Linked DNA regions of Homo sapiens: all the other regions are linked to region 3. Evidence: promoter capture Hi-C in 16 types of primary human blood cells and fetal thymus (Javierre and others, 2016). All regions are on one chromosome and are shown on one strand. Each heading gives the region's core, a stretch centred on a gene start or on the middle of the fragment in contact. The rest is flanking DNA. Distances are from core to core; before and after follow the strand shown. Region 1 overlaps GDF11 (growth differentiation factor 11). Region 2 has its middle 3.1 kb from the start of GLS2. Region 3 holds the start of RPL41 (ribosomal protein L41). Region 4 overlaps RBMS2 (RNA binding motif single stranded interacting protein 2). Region 5 has its middle 2.4 kb from the start of RBMS2.

Region 1 (2,700 bases), core at 3-2,502, 370 kb after region 3:
TGCACCAAATGGGTATGCGGATATTTTTGCATGAACATGTACTCGCACTGGCCGGAGCAGTAGTTGGCCTTGTAGCGCTTAGGTGCGATGATCCAGTCCCAGCCGAAAGCCTCAAAGTCCACTGTGAGGGGATATCGGCAGCAGCGGGACTCGCTTGAGTGCTCGTCGCAGTCCAGACCCAGGTTCCGCCGGGAACGTTTTGTGTTCTCTAGGACTCGAAGCTCCATGAATGGATGCTGAGGGTCAGGGAGAGGGGAAAGAAATGTGATATGGTCCTGAACAGTTCCTCTTCCCTGTTCCTTTCCCACCTGCCAGGGGCATCAGAATAGAGACTGCTGACTTCTCAGCTTTTCCATTGCTCCCACCCCCAGAATTTATCTTTTGCCCACTTTTCTTGCCAGCTAGCTAGCTCTCCTTCAACTCACCATCTCTAATTCTTACTCTTCTGGCAACCTGATCCCTGTCAGCCCCTTGGCCCAACGCCTCAACAGCCAGTTTTTTTGTTCTCACAGCTCTTCCATTAACTGACACCTTTACCTTCAAATCCAGTTTTCAGCTGTTGTCTGATTTGGATCCTTGAGAAGTAATAGTTGCCACCCCACTCCTCACCTCCTCCTCTAGAATCAGCTGCTGACCCCAGAGAAGTAATGCTGGTCCCCAACCTCCTTCACATTCCTTGTCTACCTTTTCCAATGTAACCCTATCTCCTCAGGGCCAGGTTACACATATCCACCACCTCAGGCCCCCTGCTCACCAGCCCCTCGGCTCCCGGCCCCAGGGAGGTGACAGCCAGGTCTGTGCCACTGGGATCAAAGGCGTTGATCTCGATGCCCCAGTTGCTCTGTGGCTGGCGGAACCAGCTGTGTAGCACTTGCTTGAAGTCGATGCTCTGCCAATGGCCTGAGCGTGAGTGCAGCTCAATCTTCAGTGAGCGGATACGGATGTGACGCCGGCCTCCGCCCCCTCCCCCTGCGGTCCCTTCCCCAGTTAGGGGTTTTAGTCGCAAGATCTGCAGGTAGACTGTGGCTGGGCGGGGTACAGGCCGTAGGTACACCCACAGCTGGGCCTTCAGTACCTTTGTGAACATCACCTTGGGGCTGAAGTGAAAATGGCAGCAGAGAGGGCTGCCATCTGTCTGTACTGCTGGGTCCGCTGATAAGAGAGAAGGGCACAGCATCAGCAAAGGGTGTTTGTGTAGGGGATCAGTAGTCCTGGGTGGCACTGGCAATTTTGGACTTCTCAGCCTGATTTTCCAGTTCTTCTTTACCCTTCTCCCATGCCTATCTTATACCATGTCTCCGGTACCTAAAACAGCACTTCCTCTTTAGGATGATGGCCCTATAAGGCCTTACTGATCTGTGTCCATTTCCTAATCCATTTGCCCTAATATATAGGTTCCTGTCTACCAGATAACCTGCAAAATTATTCATCCACCACCATCCTTACTGTCCAACTTTTCCCAGCATATAAGGCTCCAACATTTTCTGAATCTTTGAAGCTCTTTATAGAAGCCATACCTCTTATCACACCTGCTGCCCTTCCATCACCTTTCCCCTATCTGCTCTGATTTATCTGCTGGACAGGTAGAGCCTGGCACATCCCTCCCCCACAAAATAACACAGATGGCCTCAGAGAGGGGATAACCCAGGGTCCAGATAGGGAGCATGAGCTAAATTTATCCCATTATGTAAACCAGAATTCAGATCTAGGCTTCTTGCCTCACTCCCATTAGGAATAACACCCAGCAAAATGGAACTATCCAAGCACTTCCTATACATCTGTCTCCCCATTCTCTCTTAAGAAGTTTCTTCAGCTGCTGCTCCATCATCATCACCATGACTGCCCCCAGCTCTTGAGGAAAGGAATAATTACCTCCATGGTGTTGCCTCCTATTTGCCTAAAGCACCAGAAATAATATTAAATACACCAGATTAACTACAATGCCTTTTTTCTCCCCTGAGCTTCCTTTGACTTCTCAGTCTAGTGCCAGTAGGTCTTTACAAAGTTTGAACATCCCAACTTTACATTTTGACCCATTTCCCCTTGCTCTGGACCTTAAATTGATCCTTCTTGGGTCTAATAGATGATTCTCAATAAATATCTGCCTCTGCCTCCATTCCAGCTCCTCTTCACTGCCTTTCCTAAGTCAGTTGGGAGTGTCCTACAACATGTCTCCATTGGACAGAATATGTCTATCCTGACTCTAGATAGGAAGAATCAGGAATGAGCTTCCAGAGCCATATAAGCAGGGTTAGGAAGTCTAGGCCTTTAAGTATCCTCCCCATGTCTTGAGTTCTGCAAAATCAGGATGGACTTAGGGTGTCCTGTCAGCTCTTCCCCACCCCCACCCTGGGAGAAAGAGGACCTTCTAAGGGAGATGAGGAGAAAGTGCTTAATGAACTTCATATATTCAGGATATGATACCCAAAGTCTCTATAGCTTTTTTTTTTCTTGATTATTCTCTGAGGTCCCAGGGCCCTGGTAGTCCAGTTATTTTACTGGCTGGAGCTTCAGTGATGGTGCAATGGAGTAGGGTTTGGGGGGTGAGAATTCAGAGATCAGAAGTAGCTGGGATAGGGAAGCTACTAGTGAGATGGGGAGTGACAAGCAACATCCCAAATAGCATACTTTACAAATTTCAGCATAAGAATTGTCTATTTTCTTGCCATTAGGTACTAATCTCCATGAGAGTGGACACTG
Region 2 (2,700 bases), core at 130-2,629, 370 kb before region 3:
TGTTAGGCATCGTAAATGGACCAGTGTGATGATATGTTTTTTAATAGGCTTATATTTATATTTTTTCAGTCCTATAAATGTTCATTTTGTTATTGCTAAACCAAAGAAGAATTAGGAAAGCACACTGGAGTAGATCACAGACACGCTTAAACTTTTATTAAATTTCATTTACTCCATGAAAGTCTAGCATCAAGTTAAAACATGCATCCCATACCTACATCCTCAGTTTCATTGGTCCCCATTCTTTTTTTTTTTTTTTTTTTTTTTTTTGAGATGGAGTCTCGCTGTCACCCAGGCTGGAGTGCAGTGGCGCGATCTTGGCTCACTGCAACCTCTGCCTCCCAGGTTCAACTGATTCTCCTGCCTCAGCCTCCTGAGTAGCTGAGATTACAGGTGCATGCCACCACGCCTGGCTAATTTTTGTATTTTCAGTAGAGATGGGGTTTCACCGTGTTGGTCAGGCTGGTCTCGAACTCCTGACCTTGTGATCTGCCCACCTCAGTCTCCCAAAGTGCTGGGATTACAGGCATAAGCCACCACGCCCGGCTGGTCCACATTCTTATACCCACGTTTCATTCCAACCAAACTAGAGGTAGAGTCCCTCAAATGTTCCTCTCAGGCTATGTTTATTCTTGTAGAGCCCTCTGTCTGAAACACCTCTCGTGCTTTAAAAACCAGCTCCTGTCAGTCACCATTCCTCTTCTATCCCAGTGGCCCTTCACCCCCAGCTTAGTTAGATGTCCCCTTTATACTTTCTTCTGCATGTCTCTACATCACAGCATTTTTCATTAGGAATTTTAAACATAAGCTTTCTCATTTCTCCCAGTAGAAACTGGTTTATTAAATTTTTAAATTTCTGGATTTTCCAGCACTGGACCTGGCACACTGAATGCCAACAAATAAATATTAATTGAGTGAATGGAAGCTCATTATGTCAGAGCCCCAAGTACTTACATTTTACCCAGTAAAATACAAGTTTATCTTTTACAAATGGAGAAACTAAGGCAGAAAGGAGTTTGTAACAATAGTATCATTAACAAAGATTAATAAAAAAATGAACTAATCTTTTACTTGGACCAATTAACATCCTAGCTACAGTCTAAAGAGTAGAACAGGCCAGGTGCGGTGGCTCACACCTGCAATCCTAGCACTTTGAGAGGCTGAGGCGGGCAAATCAAGGGGTCAGGAGTTCGAGACCAGCCTGGCCAACATAGTGAAACTCCGTCACTACTAAAAATACGAAAATTAGCCGAGCATATTGGCGGGTGCCTGTAATCCCAGCTATTCGGAAGGCTGAGGCAGGAGAATTGCTTGAACCCGGGAGGCGGATGTTGCAGTGAGCCAAGATCACACCATTGCACTCCAGCATGGACGACAGAGCGAGACTCCATCACACACACACACACACACACACACACACACACACACAAAATAGAGTAGAACAAATGAGTCTCTAAATCATAAGAAATAAACAAACTCCAAACATCAATTTCCTATCACAGAGGATTAGCTTTTCCTTCTTTCTTTCTTTTCTTTTTTTTTTTTTGTTTGAGACGGAGTTTTGCTCTTGTTGCCCGGGCTGGAGTGCAATGGCGTGATCTCAGCTCACCGCAACCTCCGCCTCCCAGATTCAAGCAATTCTCCTGCCTCAGCCTCCTGAGCAGCTGGGATTACAGGCATGAGCCACCGCGCCCGGCCCGGATTTAGCTTTTATTAAGGATTCAAAATCATTAAGTCTAATCCTCTCTCACATACCACAAAACTCTGGCACAGCCATGGACTAACCTAAAAGCCCACTGTTAGAGACACAAAGAACTTTCTTTCAGTTATGAAAATCTTCATTTCTAGCTGCCCTTGTCATAGTTGGCTAATAGTTTTGCACAAATTAAACTAGATGATGAGTATTTTTCAAATTAGAAACAAAAAGAGGACCTGACCCTGCCAAGCTTTAACCACCTGGGACAACAAACTTGTTCTTCTCCAGCATCTTATACTTTACACAGTACCATTGGCCTCCCAAGTCACCAGTTCATGCTCCATCCTCATGCAAAGACAGCAATATTGTATTGGAGACAGTTAGTCCAAAGGTCCAAGTGCAGCTGGAGCTAGTTCTCTAAGCAAAGAACCTCTGCTTCCATGCATAGATCTTCTTCACTACCCAACCAGTTCCTATTAGTGGAAGAGTGCTGGGAGAAAGAGAGTAAGGAACTCATTAGAGTATAAAGCTAATTCAAAGAGGCAGAAATAGGAAAAAAAGGAAGCAAATTACTTCTGGGTAATGTTTAGAAATTCCCTAACAGATGGTATTTTTCTCTTGAATAGATCAAAACGTTTCAGATAAATCATATTTCTATGAAACAAGGATAAGATTCGTCTGTTACGTATGAAAAAAACTAATGCAGGATTGAGTTTACGTTAAGTATTGAGACCCAGAACTCTGCCTCTTGGGCAAAGCCAAGCATAAAGCAGCAAGCCCTCCCAGAATTAGACGGCTTTCCACGGACAGGAGAACAGATACAGCAGACACAGAATGACTACAGAAGGCGAAAACAAGCAAAAACAAATGTCACTCCATCTGGTTTTAAGCCAAATAAGCCCTCCAACCCTAACCAAGGCAAAGGAGAACTGCCTTTCCACAGAACACACCTGACTGGTTTCAGTACTTGTTTTCCCACGAGTACCCTTGAAACTCATTTTAAT
Region 3 (2,700 bases), core at 108-2,607:
ATCCCATCCAACTCCAGCGAGATGCAAACCACACCACGTAACCCGGGCTGTTGCCTTTATAGCTTTGATACCCTCCATAGCACAGGTAGTGACAGGGCAAACTCTAATGACAGAAAACCCCCACCCGATGGAACCATAAAAAACATAATAGACAAGATGATTTAATTCTTCAGCTAAAACAGCGGAAGAGGTGATTTATTATATGGTTGTTACACTCGGCCACAAATAAACACAGAAATAGTCCAGAATGTCACAGGTCCAGGGCAGAGGACCAACATGGGCATTTTGTTTATGAGCAAGGTGGGTCTCAGAGGTGATCGGCGATCAGAGGGCGATGAAGTTCTAGATCCATTGAGACAAGCTCTAGACAGTAGCATGCAGTCCCACAACTTGTACCAGCATCCCCAGCGTCTGGCATTCCATGTTTCTGCTCCTGTGGCCTCCACGGTGCAACAAGCTAGCGGTTTACTTGGACCTCTGCCTCATCTTTCTTCTTTTGCGCTTCAGCCTGAAAAGCAGACACAGGAATGGAATACACCTCAAACCAGAGTTGCCTTTCCCTCCCACATTAAATCAAACGTCCACATAAAGAATGAGGTGGTAAAATGAACAAGCACTACGGTTCTATCGTTCTCTGTTCTGTTAAATCCTGGCTCCAGGGAGAAAACACTCAAACGTTTTTCTCCTAAAGATCTTTTAAGATTTCCAAACCAAATGTTTCTCCTAAGTTTTGTCCAAGGAACTTCCCTCCTCCTGGGCTGGCAAAGTCTCAACGTACCTGCGCATTCGCTTCTTCCTCCACTAGCAACCGATCACAAGCAGCAGATAATTAAAAAAAAAAAAAAAAAAAAGGGATGAAGCTTATTAGTAGGCTTAGCAAGGATATGAAATGCACTCTTTAGAACCGGACAGATTCTTAACCAAGAAGTATGAAAGATTGGTCGTAACAACTACATCAGTAACTTGGACACCCTCCCAACATAAGATCAGAATTCCACCCTTTTCTAAGCCCACCCTCTCTACCCATAGCACTTAACCGCTAGCTCTCTCACAAACTACCTTCTCTCTCCCACCAGCTCTTGGGCACCCTTGAAACCCAGTAGTTCAGGAGGTATGGCGGACTTGCCTTCGTCTCCTCGCTACTACTCGCCAACTCCTACCTCCCAAGCTTACTACCAGGAACCGCTCACCTTGGCTCTCATGGCGCAGAGGTTTCTACAGGGAAAGAGAGAAAGGCTACAGTTAGTTTGCTGTGATGATGCTAAGTGCCGAGGTCAGATGTCTATGGATTGTACACGGAATCCCAACGCAGGAACCAAAAAACACTCACCCAAAAAAATGGCGCTAAGGCCGAGAGAAAGGCGAAGTTCCGTCTACGGCTATTTAATGGAGCGCCGGGTGTCGTCACTTCCGCTTTCACGCCCTTTGCCCCCCCCAAGGGCGGGGCTACCCAATGGGCGTAACAGTGGTTTTCGGACCCTCTTGTAGAAGGGTAGGTTGAGTTAGTTCTTTCGGAAGACCGAGTATTTGGTTTTCGAGTTACCAGTTCCCCCCCAGATTTAGTATGAGGACGCTGTGTTATTTAAACGTCAGCACCTATTTCCAATATTGGACCTAGAGGTGCAGACGGGGAAAAAATAGTGACCGCCACCTTCCCTCGCATTGCTTCTTGGGAGTTGCAGTTCCCTGGAGAAGTCCTCCATTTTGCTATGGATAGGCGCGGACTGTACAGAAATTCTTGTTTTACTGGTTTGCCTTCTTTTCTTTCTTTCTTTCTTTCTTTCTTTCTTTCTTTCTTTCTTTCTTTCTTTCTTTCTTTCTTTTCTTTCTTTCTTTCTTTTTTTCTTTTTTGAGACAGGATCTCACTGTGTCACCCAGGCTGGAGTGCAGTGACGCGATCTCGGCTCACCGCAATTTCCGCCTCCTGAATACAAGCGATTCTCCCGCCTCAGCTTCCCGAGCAGCTGGGACAACAGGCGCGCGCCACTTGGCTAATTTTTGTATTTTTAGTAGAGACGAGGTTTCGCTGTGTTGCCCAGGCTGGTCTCGAACTCCTGAGCTCAAGCGATCCGCCCGCCTCGGCCTCTCAAAGTGCTGGGATTACAAGCATGAACCACCGCGCCCAGCCGGTTTGCCTTATTTTCTAAAATAAATTGCTGCAGGGTGATTCGATTCCGGAACCATCGAAGGTCCTAAGATTTCAGAACATAGGAAGATATAAAGTGGGGATTCGGGAAAGCTGCCATACTTCAAAAAATATTTTCTCACTGTTTAAGATAGAGCAATTATTTTTCCTAAATTTCAAGAATAAAATAGCTGATTATGGTCTTCCCCCACGATGCCCGAAGCAAAATATCACTAGAGATTCCTGGCTACAATGCATCATTTGTTCAGAAAATACGTCAGCGGGCTGGGCACGGTGGCTCATGCCTGTAATCCCAGCGCTTTGGGAGGCTGAGGTGGGGGAATCTCGAGCCCAGGAAGTCGAGGCTGCAGTGACCTATGCAGTGATTCTCTAGGGGTGAAGAGCGAACCAACGGACATAGGGAGAAAATTACCTAAATCTAGGGAAAGTATGACATTTGGTGTTAAGATAAAGAACTTCCCAGTTTGATTGTATGCTCAGGTGAGAAGCACTGGAAAACAACCAGATCCCCTAAGATTTGGCTACAGGAAACTTTTGAGTTAATGGGGGATGAA
Region 4 (2,700 bases), core at 61-2,560, 460 kb before region 3:
CCATACCCAGCTAATTTTTGTATTTTTAGTAGAGACGGGGTTTCACCAGGTTGGCCAGGCTGGTCTCAAACTCCTGACCTCAGGTGATCCACCCGCCTCAGCCTCCCAAAGTGCTGGGATTACAGGCGTGAGCCACCACGCCCAGCCAAGAGAAACTATTTCTTGTTCCCAAGGTCTGAAACACTCAGAGTAAGGGGGTGTTCACGGACCAGACAAGATATAAAGCAAAAAGGGGTGCTTGGCTCACTTAGTCCAGTCATTTTGAAACTAAAAAAAAAAAAAAAAGTCAAAAGAATCTCCTTTCAAATAAAATCTTAAAATAAATAAAAGCAGAGCCATTTCTTAAGTGGGCTAAGGGAGGCTGATACCCTACGACAGTGAGGGCAGATACCAAAGCCCAAAGAAGGGCACCTGGGAAAACTGCAGGTATAGGGAATACTGTGGGAAAATTACTCATCTGAATCAATCTCCACTTCAGAGAGTGAACCAAGGCTCACAAGCTCTGATATCACAGGTGCAGAATTGTTCTGGAATACAGGTCTCCCAACAGATCTGAAAAGGAAGATCAAAACTTCTACCTCATCCTACTGCTCTCAAAGCCAGAAGGATCAGGGCTCTGCTCTAACACCCACTCCTGTAAGACCCTGGGCAAATCATTTCTACTGAAGAGTTCACTTTCCTCATCTGTAAGATAGAGAATATTTATCTCACAGGGATGTTGTAAAGATTAAATGAGACAAGATGAGAAATACTCAGTAAACTATAAGAATATACAGAATTTTTTACTCTGGTTGGGTCTGGATTAAAGGAACAAAGCCTAGAGTACTTCCCTAGGAAGTAGTAGGGAGCTTAGCCGAGTGTGGTGGCTCATGCCTGTAATCCCAACTGCTTAGGTGGCTGAGGCAGGAGGATCACTTGAGCCCAGATGTTCAAGAGCAGCCTGGGCAACACAGCAAGACCCCATCTTTATAAAAAAAATATTTAGGTGGGGCTAATGGGTTTTTGAGTATTGTAACCTATAATAAAATGAACCTTTTTTTTTTTTTTTTTTTTGAGACAGAGTCTCACTCTGTTCCCCAGGCTGCAGTGCAGTGGTGCGATCTCAGCTCACTGCAACCTCTGCCTCCCAGGTTCAAGCAATTCTCCTGCCTCAGCCTCCTGAGTAGCTGGGATTACAGGCATGCGCCACCACGTCTGGCTAATTTTTGTATTTTTAGTAGAGACGGGGTTTCACCATGTTTGCCAGGCTGGTCTCAAACTCCTGACCTCAGGTGATATGCCTGCCTTGGCCTCCTAAAGTGCTGGGATTACAGGTGTAAGCCACCGCACCTGGCCTAAAATGAACTTTTGACTTACCATCAAGTATTTTTGAATAATAGTAAAGTATTTTGACCTTGTGTGGGAAAGGCATAGATTTTGTTTTCTGGTGACCCCCAAGTGACATTTGTTATTAACCTCATCATTTCCCCACTCCTGCCATCCTCACCTTGCAAAGCCAACACCTCTGCTGGTCCCACTGGTATCTCGAAGGATACGGGTGGAGATAACCTGGCCAAAGGGCTTCAGCATCCCCTCCAGTTCCTGCTCATCCATTGACAGTGGGAGGTTTGAGATGTATAAATTTGTGGGGTCCTGTTCCTGTTGCTGTGGAAATAACAGTGAGAAAATGAGGCTCACATCTCTTATCCCTCTCCCACCCTCAGCCCTCCCCACAAATGACATTTCAGAAAAGAGACTATAGGAAGGGTCCCACATAAACAAAGATTATTCTATTTGTTAACACCCAGTCCCACTACCACGGGTTGTATATTGAGTTCCAGGAGGGAGAAGTGCAGATTTAATATTTCTAGTACTATACAAGCCCATCATACAAGTCATAAATGGTGTTTGGCTGTCTCTTTTAGAAACAGGCAGAGCAGCATTCCCGCTCTCCCCCAGCAGCCGGTCCCAGAGGCTGGATTCCCTCAGACTGCCTTGCTCCTTGGCTGGCTTGTTTTGAGCAGCCCCTCCCCACTTCTCTTCCAGCCACGCAGAATCCTCTAAGTAGGAATGCCTGTTCACTCCCTGATGGAGGAAGAGCAGGAGGAGGGGAGAAGGGAACAGGGAGAGAGCCAGATGCAGAGTTCACTGTGTCACCACGGAGCCCTGAAAGCTACAGTCTCCTAGGACCCTGAAGGCTCCTAAACCTTTGAGCTTTTGTCAGAGGGTTTTACTCCTGGAAGAAGAGGTAGGAGAGCCCTTCCAGGGGACAGAATGTGCAAAATGGCAATATCATCCAATAGTTGTATTTTTAAGAATTTAAGCAGTCACTCTGCCCTAAACAGTGGTCACCAGCAACCTTAATCCTCTTCTGCCTTTTCCTTTTGTTTTCCTTTTCTTTAACCATTACAGAAAAGGTGTCTAGCAGGCCTGCCTCACAAGCTCTATGTATAATACTCATAACAGCTTCAGAAAGGCAAAGGGACAGCCAGGCGTGGTGGCTCATGCCTGTAATCCCAGCACTTTGGAAGGCTGAGGTGGGCGGATCACAACGTCAGGAGATCGAGACCATCCTGGCTAACACGGTGAAACCCTGTCTCTACTAAAAATACAAAAAATTAGCTGGAGGTGATGGCGGGTGCCTGTAGTCCCAGCTACTTGGGAGGCTGAGGCAGGAGAATGGCGTGAAGCCGGGAGGTGCAGCTTGCAGTGAGCCGAGAT
Region 5 (2,700 bases), core at 61-2,560, 400 kb before region 3:
AGTTTATGTCTAAATTGAAGTCTACAGTTGGGATGTCTGCTTTGAGTTGTCTTTGAGCTGTTTAAAAAAAAAAAATACTTAAGAAGCATATGCTTCAACAGAATAAAAACACAAAATTCTTAGGAAGGAATACAAATTTCAGAGTCAAGAACCTAATAGAGTTGCAACACTTACCTCTACTAGTTTCCAAAGAATGTCTTTGTAGGCGTAACCTTAACAAGAAAGGAAACCAAAAACTTAAGAATGATATCCAGTAACCCCTACCAATCCAAGTGCAATAGGGATGTTAAATGAAAGCCTTCAAATCCCTTCATAAGGCCACCTTGCTGCCATCCTAAGTAGTTTCTTGAGATATAAATTAACCCTGTCTGTTTTGTGACAACAAATATTAAGCCCAAACCCTCCCTCAAATGAAGTTCTGGTCTCTATTCTAGTTTCCGTGTCACTTTTTTGCTATGATAATGGAACAGACAGTATTAGTATTCTGCAGAGTAAATATACATACCCTACCCCCAATCTCTAACTTTCATTTCCAATAGGACAGGAAGTGCCTGCTCAGCTCAGGGGACACAGGAAGGGTGGGAGAGCCTCAGTGTGGGAATTGCAACTGAGACTGGAAACACAGCAGCCAAATGCAGTAAATAAATAAATGAAGGCATCACTCAGTGATATCTTTTTTTTTTTCTGAGACAGAGTCTTGCTCTGTTGCCCAGGCTAGAGTGCAGTGGTGCTATCTTGGCTCACCGCAACCTCTGCGTCCCGGGTTCAAGCGATTCTCCTGCCTCAGCCTCCCGAGTAGCTGAGACTATAGGCATGCGCCACCATGCCCGGCTAATTTTTTTGTATTTTTAGTAGTCTTGTTGGCCAGACTGGTCTCAAACTCCCGACCTCAGGTGATCTGCCCGCCTTGGCCTCCCAAAGTGCTGGGATTACAGGAGTGAGCCACCGCGCCCGGCCCATATATATATATATATATATTTTTTTAAGTCCTTTTTCTGCTCTCAGAGACTCTCATTAACCAATTTATCCTTGCTGTTTAGGCCCTTGGATGATATCTTCTCCTTTACCCTAACAATGTGGTACAGAAACCTTTCTCTTGAAGGCCTGATTCATAAAGGCAATCAACCCAATTTAACTTTTTTTTTAAGTCTAATTTTTCTTTCTACTTTTTTTTTTTCCCCCTGAGACAGAGTCTCACTCTGTCGCCAGGCTGGAGTGCAGTGGTGCAATCTTGGCTCACTGAAACCTCTGCCTCCCGGGTTCAAACGATTCTCCCGCCTTAGCCTCCTGAGTAGCTGGTACTACAGGCATGTGCCACGACGCCCAGCTAATTTTTGTATTTTTAGTGGAGACGGGGTTTCACCATGTTGGCCAGTCTGGTCTCGAACTCCTGACCTCAGGCAATCCACCCGCCTTGGCCTCCCAAAGTGCTGGGATTACAGGTGTGAACCACGGCACCCGACCGAAAAATCTAAATTTTTATAATCTGGTAAATTAGGACCACAGAAGTAAAATGACCCGGATATGCAAACTGATGCCAAAGGTGTATTATGTTAAAGAGCACCAACAAAACTGGAAACTAAATCCTTCATTCTGGTGAGTATATGTATTATAAACATATATTTTTTTTTATGACAGGGTCTCACTCTGTCACCTAGGCTGGAGTGCAGTAGCACAATCACGGCTCACAACAGGCAGCTTTGACTTCCCCAGGTTCAGGTGATCCTCACACCCATCCCACCCCTCCCCACCCTGTAGCTGGGACTACAGGCATGCACCACCACACCTGGCTAACTTTTGTAATTTTTTTTTTTTTGGTAGAGACGGGGTTTCATCATGTTGCCCAGGCTGGTCTTGAATTCCTCAGCTCAAGCAATTTGCCCACCTCAGTCTCCAAAACTGCTGGCATTACAGGTGAGTATATTTGTAAAGGAGTTATGGAATTCTGTGGAAATGATGGGGAAGGTAATGGTGTTCTGTGGTTAGATTCAGGAAGTATACGGGAGGAGGAAGAATCCTACTTCCTCCAGTGTATTTACTTTGACGCCCTTCTGCTTTGCCCATTACATTGCCCACATTTTTCCAGATTTAGTCAATGCCTCTCTAATTCTTGGTTCTCATGAACCCAGCACTCAGGAATTGTTTTGAAGGGAAAAAAGCAAAATGAGAGTTATCTGTAACTTCTTTGGGGAAGAGACATTTGTACCTGATTCAATATAGGCTTGTTTGTGATTTCTCCAGAAAAACAACTCTTTTAAACAAGTGTCCAAGGTGAAGGAGTAGGGGCTAGGTCAACCCCAAAATGTAGCTGAAAAATGTCCCAGCACTTTGGGAGGCTGAGGTGGGCAGATTGCTTCAGTCCAGGAGTTCAAGACCAATGTGGGCAACATGGCAAAACCCCATTTCTGCTAAAAATACAAAAAACTAGCCAGGCATGGTAGTGCATATCTGTAGTCCCAACTCCTCAGGAGGCTGAGTTGGGAGAGCCATCTGAGCCTGGGAGGTCGAGGCTGCAGTGAGCTGAGATGGCGCCACTGTACTCCAGCCCAGGCAACCAAAGTGAGATCCTGTCTCAAAATAAAAGAAAAAGAAAAATAAAGAAAAATGTTTGCATGCCTCTATTGGCCCCTCCATATCAGAGTGGAGAATTCAGAAGAATGTATTACCTGTAGATGTGCTGGACCCTAGCCAGACATTCCA

The links. Contacts are between HindIII fragments. The CHiCAGO score rates a contact against its expected background, and 5 or more counts as called.
Region 1: a fragment that was not itself captured here is called in contact with the fragment with the promoter of RPL41 in region 3 in 4 of 17 cell types (fetal thymus, naive CD8 T cells, naive CD4 T cells and 1 more); the score reaches 7.4 in fetal thymus.
Region 2: a contact is called between a fragment that was not itself captured here and the fragment with the promoter of RPL41 in region 3, in 5 of 17 cell types (naive CD4 T cells, total CD4 T cells, naive B cells and 2 more). The highest score is 9.0, in naive CD4 T cells.
Region 4: a contact is called between a fragment that was not itself captured here and the fragment with the promoter of RPL41 in region 3, in 1 of 17 cell types (fetal thymus). The highest score is 5.7, in fetal thymus.
Region 5: a fragment that was not itself captured here is called in contact with the fragment with the promoter of RPL41 in region 3 in 1 of 17 cell types (naive CD4 T cells); the score reaches 5.4 in naive CD4 T cells.

The regions. Positions count from the first base shown.
Region 1 is chr12:55,747,038-55,749,737 of GRCh38, reverse strand. It overlaps GDF11 (growth differentiation factor 11), which reads right to left. Exons shown (of 3, transcript NM_005811.5): 2 at 755-1,152; 3 at 1-236. Among named protein-coding and RNA genes, the nearest start is that of GDF11, 5.3 kb to the right of the region's middle. RefSeq lists an enhancer at 2,216-2,700. The HindIII fragment of the contact is 9,248 bases long and covers 1-2,700 here.
Region 2 is chr12:56,489,922-56,492,621 of GRCh38, reverse strand. No RefSeq gene overlaps it. Among named protein-coding and RNA genes, the nearest start is that of GLS2, 3.1 kb to the right of the region's middle. The HindIII fragment of the contact is 1,138 bases long and covers 811-1,948 here.
Region 3 is chr12:56,115,290-56,117,989 of GRCh38, reverse strand. RPL41 (ribosomal protein L41) reads right to left here and starts at 1,357. Exons shown (of 3, transcript NM_001035267.2): 1 at 1,191-1,357; 2 at 779-801; 3 at 23-508. The coding sequence starts at 1,202. The coding sequence ends at 466. RefSeq lists a silencer at 1-49 and an enhancer at 1,716-1,765. The HindIII fragment of the contact is 11,197 bases long and covers 1,171-2,700 here.
Region 4 is chr12:56,570,642-56,573,341 of GRCh38, reverse strand. It overlaps RBMS2 (RNA binding motif single stranded interacting protein 2), which reads right to left. Exons shown (of 14, transcript NM_002898.4): 5 at 1,487-1,644. Among named protein-coding and RNA genes, the nearest start is that of RBMS2, 50 kb to the right of the region's middle. The HindIII fragment of the contact is 3,027 bases long and covers 1-2,700 here.
Region 5 is chr12:56,518,109-56,520,808 of GRCh38, reverse strand. It overlaps a transcript of RBMS2 not described here. Among named protein-coding and RNA genes, the nearest start is that of RBMS2, 2.4 kb to the left of the region's middle. The HindIII fragment of the contact is 4,136 bases long and covers 1-2,700 here.